3 separate regions of the Homo sapiens genome follow, and regions 2 and 3 are each linked to region 1. Evidence: promoter capture Hi-C in 16 types of primary human blood cells and fetal thymus (Javierre and others, 2016). All regions are on one chromosome and are shown on one strand. The core of a region is centred on a gene start or on the middle of the fragment in contact, and the rest is flanking DNA. Distances in the headings are between cores, read along the strand shown.

Region 1 (3,935 bases), core at 597-3,096:
CATTTGGGGAGAGGGGCCTAGGAAGACAGTATTGACCCAAAGTCAGGGCAGGAGAGAAGTGGAGGATGCTTTTTGATAGCATTTCAAAGATGGTGGCAGGTGCTACCTCAGGGCATAGGGAATGGATGAGACAATTGACCAGTTTACAAACTGAGTCAGAGCAGGGGACTGGGGGAGAAGGATGCCTCTCTTCTAGCTGGGAGGAAATCAAGAAAAACATTAAGAAGCTGGAGCCTCCTGGGAATGCACAGGCCAAAGCTCAGACACACGCCCATCCCAGCAAGGCAGAAAGAAAAAAATACCCCTTTCCAGGCAGCCTGGTTACCCTGATGCGAACTGCAAACTATGAAGACTGCTGCTGAGGCGGGAAAATCTTAGGGGAGGGGCAGGCTGCTCGGTGGATCCAACCACTTATCCTTTGTCTACCTGTAAGTCTAAAATTCTGCTCCATGGCCGGGCATGGTGGCTCACGCCTGTAATCCCAGCACTTTGGGAGGCCCAGGCAGGTGGATCACCTGAGGTGAGGAGTTTGAGACCCGCCTGGCCAACATGACAAAACTCCATCTCTACTAAAAATGCAAAAATTAGCCGGGCTTGGTGGCATGCACCTGTAGTTCCAGTTACTCGGGAGGCTGAGGAAGGAGAATCGCTTGAACCCAGGAGGCAGAGGTTGCAGTGAGTTGAGATCACGCCAGATCACTCTAGCCTGGGCAACAGAGCGAGATTCCATCTAAAAATAAATAAATAAAATAAAAATAAAATTCCGTTCCATCCCAATTTTCCCTCCCCAGGTGCAAATTCGACACCCTATCCCAGGCCAGGCAGAGCCCCTGCTGGGTGTAGCTCAGACAGACCCTACACTCACCCAGCTTGGGGCCCAGGCCTGTCTGCTAACTCACCTTTCTCACAGAGCCCTTTAGTGAAGAAGTTGCACACAGCTGAGGCCGACTCTGGAAGGAGAAGAGGGAACGGAGAAGGTAGCTTCCCCAGAGGCTGCAGCTGTTCCGGAAGCCTCCACCTCCATCGGCATGTCCCACCTAGACCTCCCCCAGGCTCTGGCCTATGGGATCCCAAATCTGGGCCCTGTAGAGGTTAACCTGCAGAGCCAGCCAGCAGACCTCAACCCTTAACCCCCCAACTCTGAAACAGAGGAGCTCGAGGGGCTCAAGCCTGGCCCAGGAGCTCGGGAGGCCAGTGTGGCTTCTCTCAATTCACCGTCTCTCTGTGCCTCTCTTTCTCAGTCTGGAAAATGGGTTGCCCCGAAGCCACAGAAGAGAGAGACAGAGAAGGGGCGGTCGCATCAGGGAGTTGAGCAGAGAGGCCTGTAGAGAAGGAAGGGGGAGGGAGGCTGGGCGTGGTGGCTCATGCCTGTAATCCCAGCACTTTGGGAGGCCAAGGCGGGCGGATCACGAGGTCAGGAGATTGAGACCATCCTGGCTAACATGGTGAAACCCGGTCTCTACTAAAAATACAAAAAATCAGCTGGGCGTGGTGGCGGGCGCCTGTAGTCCCAGCTCCTCGGGAGGCTGAGGCAGGAGAATGGCGTGAACCCAGGAGGCAGAGCTTGCAATGAGCCGAGATTGTGCCACTACACTCCAGCCTGGGCTACAGAGCGAGACTCCGTCTCAAAGAAAAAAAAACAGAGAAGGTAGGGGAGGGAAAGTGGCCCCACCCTCACTCACTGTCCATGCCCTGGAAAGGCAGGAGCCCAGTGCCCTTCTGCATCTCGACATCCTTCTCGAAGGCAAAGGTGAACCGCTCTAGCCCCGCAATGACCTCTTGCATCTTCCGTCTCCTGCTGGGGCTGCGGAAGCTGCTGGAACCCAGGCAGGTGGGCCCAATATAGCTCATCAGAGGCCCTTAAGGGGCCAGCGCCCAATGCCTCCCCCTTCACCCCAGGGTGCCAGTGGCCAGGTGACTGCAGGGGACGCTCCAGCCTGGGCTGTACAGGAGCAGGGCCCAGCTGCCTCACCCGGCCCACCCAGTGCAGGGGCAGACACCCCAGGGCCCCTCACCCCCACACTGTGTACACAAGGCTCACTCGGATAGGGAGGGATTCGCAGAGCCCCACAAACTGCTTATCTTTGCATGTTACCGAACACAAACGTGGCGTGCACACAGACATTACCAAACCTGGGCTCATACTTTGTCCATGAAGACACAGCCACAGGTTAGCAAAGAGTTGCACAAACCAACCGCAGCAAGGCTGTTATTCTGCCAGAGCTGGGGGTGGTGGGGGTTTGCAGAGGGAGGGAGCCGTCCCACCTCCCCGCTTCTTCCCATGAGGGAAGGGGTCTCCCTCTGGGGCCCCTGACACCCCTTTTCTGGCCTGAGTGACAAGCCCCGAGTGAGCTCTTCGTGGGAGACAGGGAAAAAGGAATGAAGAGGAGAGGAACTGAAACAGTTGGATGAATGGCGCTTTGTTTACCTCGCACACAATCGCCAGCTTGGCGGGAGGGCGGAACCGACCAAGGCCAGGGCGGCCTCCCAGCCAGGATTCCACAGGGCCACCCAGTGCCACCCCACCCCTGAGAAAGTGCTTTATAAATGAAATCTCTATGCAAATGTTGTTTTATTATTATTACACCACCCCTGCCTGCAGGGCTGGGGACATCTGACAATGCTTTCAAAGGAGCATGTTAGGGCTCTAATTAGACCAGGTTCCCCCTCCCCCTGCTCTGGCCCCAAACTGGCCTTGCCTCTAACTAGAGCTGCTGTTCTCAGTCACATTGGCTTTTAATGCCCATAGAACCAGAACCCATACGCCCTCCTTTCTGGGTGCCCAAACCCAGCAGGGAGAGGTGGGCAGCCCCGCAGGCTCTCAGCTGGGCCAACATGAACTAGCCTGCTGGCTGTTGTTCCCCGTGGCTGTTGCTCCTAGATCTGTTCTTTTGAACTCCAGATCAGAAAAGAAAATAGCTGGAGAGATAGACACCTGGAGCCGAGGTGGGACTGGGAGGAGCAGGGACGAGATCCAAGAGTTTCCAGAAGCTCAGGCCTCTGACTGCATCCTGGGAGAGGCAGAGGGACCCAGCTCCAGGGCTAGAGGGTGGGGCCAAGGGGGTCCCTGGGGTAGAAACCCTGGCTTCTCTTGGCCTTAGTTGTATGCGTTGATTAGTAGTCCCAAGAATGCATTCATCTGTCAACACAGGCTCATTAAAGGCTCACAGAAGCCTGGCAGCGCAGGCAGGACTGATGAGGGAATCAAAGCCCAGGGAGGCCAAGACCACATGGTTTGGGAGGCGCTATGGATGGGGTTCACATCTAGGTCTCTTGATGACTTCCTTCCCTAAACATCCCTGAGCATCTCTGCACTAGGGCCACGTCCCTATCCTCAGAGATGGCCCCATCAAGGAGGGGACATTAGCCATTCACACAATAATGCGATGGAGGCATGAGGGGCCCAGCAGGGCAGGAAGGGGTAGCAGGCAGAGCTCTCTCAATGGAGAGTCATGATGATGGGGAGAGAATGTTCTGGAAGAAGGCCAGCAGTATGAAGGTTGGGGCATGGAGCAATGTGAAGGCTGAGGAGGCGCTCAAGGGTTTGGTTTGGCAGAAGCGGGGGTAAAGAGGTGGAATGGGGGCAATGAGGCTTAAGAGCTGAGAAGGGACCCAACTCTGGGGGGCCTGCTGGGGCCAGCTTTGGGGGGAAGTGATCGTGAAGGCAGCAGAGCCACCACAGGGCTCTGAGAACTGTACATGGCTCTCTGAGGGATGGTCGGGGGAAGACTGGACAGGGGCTGCTTAGAGGATGAATTTTTTTTTTTTTTTTTTTTTTGAGACTGAGTCTTGCTCTATTGACCAGGCTGGAGTGCAGTGGCGCGATCTCGGCTCACTGCAACCTCTGCCTCCCAGGTTCAAGCAATTCTCCTGCCTCAGCCTCCTGAGTAGCTGAGATTACAGGCCCACACCACCACACCTGGCTAATTTTTGTA
Region 2 (3,935 bases), core at 724-3,223, 910 kb after region 1:
ATTTATTTATTCATTCATTTATTTTTATTTTTATTTTTATTTTTTTTTTGTTTTGTTTTGAGATGGAGTCTTGCTCTGTCACCCAGGCTGGAGTGCAGTGGCGCAGTCTCAGACACTGCAACCTCTGCTTCCCAGGTTCAAGTGATTCTCCTGCCTCAGCCTCCAGAGTGCCTGGAACCACAGGTGCCTGCCACCACACCTGGCTAATTTTTGTATTTTTAGTAGAGGTGGGGTTTTGCCATGTTGGCCAGGCTAGTTTCAAACTCATGACCTCAGGTGATCTGCCTGCCTCAGCCTCCCAAAATGTTGGGATTACGGGCATGAGTCACCACGCCCAGCCCGAGCTCACTCTTCTAAACTCTACGTTTTGGTGCTAAGATTGGGGCTCTGCACATAACATCTCTCCTTCGTCAACTGGCTCCTTGTTGGGTTCTGCCTGTAGGAGGACTAGAGAGAAACCAAAGGCTGGAGGAGAGAAAAGAGGCATATGCTCTTTCTGCTGGCTTATTCTTCTTGTCCCTGTCTCTCCAGCAACAGATCTCCCCCCGAGCAGCAGCAGTGCATTCCAGTAGCCAGTTTTTACTGCACAATCTCATCATGCTCCTTCAGAGATAGCAGCACCAGTCAGCCAGGCTGCAGCGTCTGAGGTCTAAACCCAGCTCCATGGGGCCTCTTCTTCAAGCTTGTAGAGTCAGATAACCACGACATCTCCCTTTTGTTCTGCCCATCCTAGGGATGATGGCTTCTTTCTCTAGTTCCTCTAACCATGCTACTTCAATGTTCTCTTTGGGCTTTTTCAGTCCTCCAATACCTGTTTAGCCAATTCTCTATATTAAATTCTCTGTTAAGATAACTGGTGTGGTTTCTATTTTCCTGACTGAACTCTGACTAATACAAGCAGGCAACTGTAATTTTTTATTATAAGCCTCCTATACAATTGGAATTTGTTTAAATTCTGCATGTATACTACTTTTTGTTACTTTTTTCCAATTCTGCAATGTAATTGCAAGGAGAGTGCAGTTACAGAGTACTGCCAGACCATTTAGAAGAAGAAACTCCTCGGCCAGGCGTGGTGGCTCATACCTGTAATCCCAGCACTTTGGGAGGCCAAGGCGGGCAGATCATGAGGTCAGGAGATCGAGACCATCCTGGCTAACACAGTGAAACCCCATCTCTACTAAAAAAATACCAAAAAAAATCATCTGGGCGTGGTGGCGGGCACCTGTAGTCCCAGCTACTCGGGAGGCTGAAGCAGAAGAATGGCGTGAACACAGGAGGCGGAGCTTGCAGTGAGCCGAGATCACGCCACTGCACTCCAGCCTGAGCGATAGAGCGAGACTCTGTCTCAGAAAAAAAAAAAAAAGAAGAAGAAGAAGAAGAAGAGCCTCCTCTACACTGGGTTGGTCATGGAAGACTTCCTGGAGGAAGTGACATCTAAACAAAATTTGAAAAACTCATTGAAATTAACCAGGCAAAGAGTGTGAGATAGTAAGCCAGGCATAGGGAATAAATAGCAAGTACAAAGGGAAGGAGGTAATAAGGCCTCATTAAGTTCAAGGAAGAGTCCGGCTGGAGCATTGCCAGTGTCAAGACGGGAGGCTGGGGAGGAGAGAGGTGATTGGATCAGAAAGGACCTCTGCAACCTTAGAGAGGAGTTGGGACATTTTCCCAGGGACTGTGAAGATCTTAGAGAGTTTCAACAGGGAAGAGGCATGACTGTATGGCCGGCAGCAGACACCCAACATCCTTGTGCCCACCTTGAGCACGCTGGCCCTTGCTCTCGGCCAAGTCACATCATCTCCAGCACTTGCCCAAACTCCACATCTCCCCCGTCTTCCCAGGCAGGCGCCTCCTCAGAACACATCTGTACTGAGTTTCCCCCTCAGAAACCTTGTTAGGACACTAGTTAGTGTGATAAACTAATTCACGGTGAAGTGTTAGCAAATGAAAATGGTTTATCGCTCCTCGGGGTATTTTCATTTTAAGGAGACTCCGTTGACAAATATTTACTGAATGGTCTATTACATGCAAGAAACTATGTAAAACTCCTAGGGGGAGTCACGGCTTGACCTAAATAAATCAGTCTCTAATGATAGAATCCTAGGCTCACCGGGAAGCATTGCAGGCAGCACACAGCCTTTCTTATCTCTGCTTAAACCACATTAGCCTCTCTCTTGATCTGCCCTCCATCCCGACCCCCACTCCTCCCCTCCAATGGGGCTGAGCAGAGGCCGTGGCCCCCGATGTTTAACTGTGACTTCCCTGAGTGGTGTTGACATTGCTGGGACTGTATTGGGGGCTCAACAGTCAATCTTCGCCCCATGTTTTGGAATCCCCAGGTCTGCCCCATGGGAAGCCAGAAGGAACTGTACTGAGGGAGCTCCATCTCCCGTCCTTGGCCACGCTCTGCCCCCACCTCCACCCAGACACACTTACGGAGGGCCTCCTGCACACCTGGCCCTGTGCCAGGAATAAGGGCCAGGGAGCAGGGGGCAAGGATGGGGAACAGCACAGAAGTCCCACACCTGCACTTCATTTCAGCACGAGATGGATTCTCCCTTGAATAGTGGAGCCTCAGGCCGGGCACTGTGGCTCATGCCTGTAATCCCAGCACTTTGGGAGGCTGAGGTTGGTGGATCACCTGAGGTCAGGAGTTTGAGACCAGCCTGGCCAACATGGTGAAACCCTGTCTCTACTAAAAATACAAAAAAAAAAAAATTAGCTGGATATGGTGGCGGGCACCTGTAATCCCAGCTACTCGGGAGGCTGAAGCAGGAGAATCACTTGAACCTGGAGGCAGAGGTTGCAGTGAGCCAAGATCGTGTCATGGCACTCCAGCCTGGGCAATAAGCGATACTCTGTCTAAAAAAAAAAAAAAAAAAGTGGAGCCTCCTCACCTGGTTGATTCTCCTCCTCTCTTTCTGTGTGTGTGTCTCTCTCTCTGCCTTCTGAGATACCAAACTAAAACAGAAAGGAGGATGAGAGGCAGGAAGGAAGGATGAATGCCGGAATGGGATGAACAGTGCTTTTCCAGCTGCTGGTCCCCCAAGTCCTCTCTCTCACCCCCTCTCTCATTGTCAGGCTCCACTCCTCCCAAGCTGGATTCCCCAGAACCACCCTCATCCCCTCCGGCCCCTCCCCACTTACCTGTTTGCAACGCCCTTCTTGGACAGCACAGGTGAGACATCCCGAATAAAGACACTGAACAAGGAAGTGGAAGCCGGAACCCTGGCGCTTTCGTCAGATTCACTGCATAGTGTCTAGAGAAGCTTACCTGTGCCTTAGCTAAGTTCCCAGGACTCACTATTCCCATCTATAAGATGGGCACAGCCCAGGCCCTGTTATCCCCCTAGGACCATCTAGACCTTCCCTCTCCGCCAGCCCTTCCCAGGCTCCCCCTTCCATCCATTAAGAAACACTGGCATCTAGTGGTTGTGTGAGGGACCTGCAGCGCAGACCCGGCTTCCAAGAACAGGGCCCATAGATGGAGAAGCCTCTGACAGCCCTATCTAGAAACAAGGAGCCCCGTATTCCATACTGCCCTCTGCAGCATCCCTCCCTCTCCCTCTGAAGAACCCCCAAGACCCCCAAACAACATGGGAGTCAAGAACCAGTGTTGAAATGGCCATGTTGCCCATCCTTGCTGAAGACCACCCAGACACCTCCCTGGTGATGAGGAGGGGAGAGAACCTGTGGATGAAACACCCCATGGCCAATCCACAAAGTGAGTCATTAGGAGCTGAGCACAAGCCCAAATTCCAGACAAATAGGACAGCTTCCTACCACGGTGGCTGCCAATCTGCCAGCCACTCCATCATGTGACCCCCCCCCCCAGACACTTAGTCAGCACTCCCAGGTGCCCAGCATCATACCAGGCTGTTGACAGTGTGTGCCTGCATGTGTGTGTGCATGGATGAGCACAGGGAGAGATGTGT
Region 3 (3,935 bases), core at 733-3,232, 550 kb before region 1:
AAGAGGATCTGCCTTCCCAGGGAGTGCTCCCTATGGAAGAGTGGTTCTCATCCTGTCTGCCCAACAGCTACCTGAAGAGCCTGGGCCCCAGCCCAACACAATTCAAACAGAATCACTGAGTAACAGGGCCCAGGCATCAGTATTTGAAAGTTCTCCACTTGATTCCAACGTGTAGTCAAGGTTTAGAACCACTGCTCTAGGGCCGGGCTCTATCCAATATGGTAGCCATGGGTTATGTGTGGCCGTTGAGCACCTGAAATATGGTGAATCCAAATTGAGATGTGCTGTAAATGTAAATATACAGTGGATTTTTGAGAGTTAGTATGAAAAAGAGAATGTAAACTATCTCATTAGCAATTTTGCTAGGCCGGGCATCATGGCTCATGTGTGTAATCCCAGCATTTTGGGAGGCTGAAGCAGGAGGACTGCTTGAGCCCTGGAGTTAGAGACCAGCCTGGGCAACATAGGAAGACCCCCATTGCTACAAAAAATGTTTCTTTAAGTAGCTGGGTGTAGGGGTCCACACCTGTAATCCCAGCTACTTTGGAGGCTGAAGTGAGAGGATCATATGAGCCCAGGAGTTGGCAGTTGCAGTGAGCTATGAGCATGCCACTGTACTCTACCCTGGATGACAGAGCAAGACAGAAAGAGACCCCGAATGACAGATGTCTCAAAAACAACAAAGAAAATAAGTTTTGCTATATTGATTACAACTGACACAATGTGGACCTGTCCCAAGTGAGAATATGTATACATGTATAGGCAGGGAGACACTGGTGGTACTGCAGGGCAGACAGGAAAGCAAATAAAGATCACTTAAGGAGGAGAAATATTGAAGAACTCCTGTGTCATCAAGCAACTATGAACACATCATCATCTCCACATTTACGAGTTGCACAAAGTCCCGATCATTCCCTCTGGCACCCCTACATCCACATGGGTACACATCCTTGTTCTGTTATATTAAGTCAGGGTTCATCTTGTTTCCACCAAAGAGAAAACGGTTAGGAAGGCAAAGCGTACGGCATGGAATAATAATTGCCAAGCAAAAGCCAAAGTTCAGCCTTGAAGCCTCTTTTTATCCATTCTTCTCAAGCATGGCAAAAATATCCTCAAAGGACAACCAGTTTAAACGATAAGGGTTTTATCAGTAAGAGGCAAGTCAATAGAATTTAAAGATAAACACATAATCAATTCTAATTTCTGCAGAACAATAACTACACTATAATAATTTTGTACCAGACATGGTAGTCAATCTGCTTGCCAAGTCCATTGTACAGAACCAGACTGCTCCACTCCAGTTCCGAGGTTCTCCTGGACTCTGGACATTGGCCACTTGCCCTGTATCCTGCTTGAGCAGCCCCAGCAATTCTCATGTGTGATGGTTAATTTTATGTGTCAACTTGACTGGGCCAGGAGGTGCCCAGATATTTGGTCACACATTCTGGGTGTTTTTGTGAGGGCTTTTGGATGAGATAAGCATTTTAATTGGTACAGTAGGCCAGACTGCCCTCCTGAATCTAAGTGGGCCTCATCCAAGTAAGTTGAAGGCTTGAATAGAACAAAAAGACTGATCCACCACCAAGTAGGAAAAGGAAAAATACTCTCCAGCAGACTGCCTTTGAACTAGAACCACACCATCAACTCTCCTGGGTCTTGAATCTGCCAGCCCACTGTGTGAATTTGGACTTGCTGGCTCCCATAATCACATGAGCAAATTCTTCGTAACAAATCTCTTTCTATATATACACATCCTATTGGTTCTGTCTCTCCAGAGAACCTTGACTGGTACATCATGTCATTCTTGCCTACAGCCTGTTACCTCATCTCCTAATATCGGGGATGGTCTCAGGGACCCCCAAGTTCAGGAAGACCCATGGCCACAGCATTGCTTCTCCATTCTTCTACAATCTCTCTGCCCTTTCCAAGGAGAGTTCACTCAGCAGTTCCATTCAGTCTCCTTGAAGATATTCTTCCCAACCCATGACTGAGCATCAAGATTGACTTGTTTTGAGAAGCTGTAGCTAGCTCAATGATAAGCCTTGGATTTGCTTTCTTGCCTTCCTGTGTTGTTCACTTCCTTTTCACTTTTGCTTCTGCGGCAGCACACTGCTCACAACTCATAACGCATGAACTTTGCCTTTGGCTCTGTTTTCTGAGAAACCTAGGCAAAGCCTTTTTTCTTTTCTTTTTTTTTTTTTGAGACGGAGTCTCGCGCTGTTGCCCAGGCTGGAGTGCAGTGACGCGATCTCGGCTCACTACAAGCTCTGCCTCCCAGGTTCATGCCATTCTCCTGCCTCAGCCTCCTGAGCAGCTGGGACTACAGGCGCCTGCCACCACACCCAGCTAATTTTTGTTGTATTTTTTAGTAGAGACAGGGTTTCACCATCTTAGCCAGGATCGTCTCAATCTTCTGACCTCGTGATCCATCTACCTCGGCCTCCCAAAGTGCTGGGATTACAGGCGTGAGCCACCGCGCCCGGCCAAGCCTTTTTCTTTTTAAACTCACTTGCCTGATGAGGAAATAGCTGAGTGCTTTTTTATTGTGGAGACAGGGTCTCATTATGTTGCTCAGGCTCCAGTGATCCTCCCACCTCAGCCTCCCAAAGTGCTGGGAATACAAGTGCATGTCCCCATGCCTGGCTTGAGCTCTTTCTTGATAGGTGTGCTCACCAATTGGCCCAGGTGTGGACACCTGCCTCAAGAGATCTGATGTATAGGCTGCTCTTTCACCTATTGCTTGAGGGTTTCTCCTTGAACAGAGATGAGCTGAGCCAAATATCTTCCTTCTCACTTAATTAAAACTTGATAAAGAAAAAGGTATTCAATGGACAATGGCTGTTGGGCAAAGAAATGATGAAGGAAGTTTGTGTGTGTGCACGTAAGTGTATGAGAGAGACAGGGAGAGAGAGAGAACTTTCCAGGTTCAATTTCAGTTCATGAAGCTGAAGATTTTCTTGCCCCTATTTCCTGTATCCTTTCAGTGAATGTCCCTTTTCACTTCTAATTGCTGATCAACCTGAACTTAACTCTTTTATAAGTAACCTGCTTTTCCTATCTGGATGGTTTTGTGATATTTTATGTATCTGCAACTCAAAAGTTTTCCCAGGATATGTCACATTGCAATTTTCTTTTCATTAAATTCAACTAAAATGTGGTTGATTTCTTTTGAGCTGCATCCTCAGATTATTTTCCCCTCAGGTTCCAGAGGTTTTATTTTCAATTATAATTTTGATTGTTGCTCCTGTTCAAATTGATCTGGTTGCTCTTTGAGGAACATGCAGAAGTCTCTGGGTCATCTGTTCTGCCAACCACACCTATTGCTTCCCCTGTCTCTCTTAATTTCCCTCTTCGTCCTTTGCTTACAGGGAGAATATATCATTTTTCTTTCATACAGCCAGCATGCTTTTCTACAATGCCAGTGCTGTTCTTATCTCCTGCCAGTGACTTTCTACTCTGGCACCATGATTTCAGTTCCCCTGTGGTTCTCATTTTTTAAATCCACCCACCTTTGTTTTCACCTTGATTTGTTTTCTTTGAATCACATCCTGTTATTCTTTCATCTCTGCTTTGGCTTGAATGTGTATGTCCCTCCAAAATTCATATGTTGAAACCAAAGACCCAGTGCAGTAGTATTAAGAGGTGGGGCTTTTGGGGAAGTGATTAAGTCATGAGGGCTCCACCCTCAAGCATGAGATTAGTGCTCTTATAAAAGAGGTTGAAGGGAACACCCAAGTCTTTTTTGCCCTCTTGCCATATGAGGACACAACAAGGTGCCATTTGTGGAGCAGAGAGCAAGCCCTTCACCAGACACAGAATCTTCTGGTGCCTTGATCTTGGACTTTACAGCCTCTAGAACTGTGAGAAATAAATTTCAACTATTCATAAATTACCCTGTCTATTTTGTTGTAGCAGCATGAATGAACTAAGACAAT

The links. Contacts are between HindIII fragments. The CHiCAGO score rates a contact against its expected background, and 5 or more counts as called.
Region 2: a fragment that was not itself captured here is called in contact with the fragment with the promoter of CPSF4L in region 1 in 1 of 17 cell types (total B cells); the score reaches 6.8 in total B cells.
Region 3: a contact is called between a fragment that was not itself captured here and the fragment with the promoter of CPSF4L in region 1, in 1 of 17 cell types (fetal thymus). The highest score is 5.7, in fetal thymus.

What each region holds. Positions count from the first base shown.
Region 1 is chr17:73,260,034-73,263,968 of GRCh38, forward strand. CPSF4L (cleavage and polyadenylation specific factor 4 like) reads right to left here and starts at 1,847. Exons shown (of 6, transcript NM_001129885.1): 1 at 1,683-1,847; 2 at 900-950. The coding sequence starts at 1,785. The HindIII fragment of the contact is 15,055 bases long and covers 1-3,935 here.
Region 2 is chr17:74,173,457-74,177,391 of GRCh38, forward strand. No RefSeq gene overlaps it. Among named protein-coding and RNA genes, the nearest start is that of RPL38, 28 kb to the right of the region's middle. The HindIII fragment of the contact is 2,587 bases long and covers 681-3,267 here.
Region 3 is chr17:72,706,753-72,710,687 of GRCh38, forward strand. The region is part of intron 7 of SLC39A11 (solute carrier family 39 member 11); the gene reads right to left. Among named protein-coding and RNA genes, the nearest start is that of LINC00511, 68 kb to the left of the region's middle. The HindIII fragment of the contact is 4,413 bases long and covers 1-3,935 here.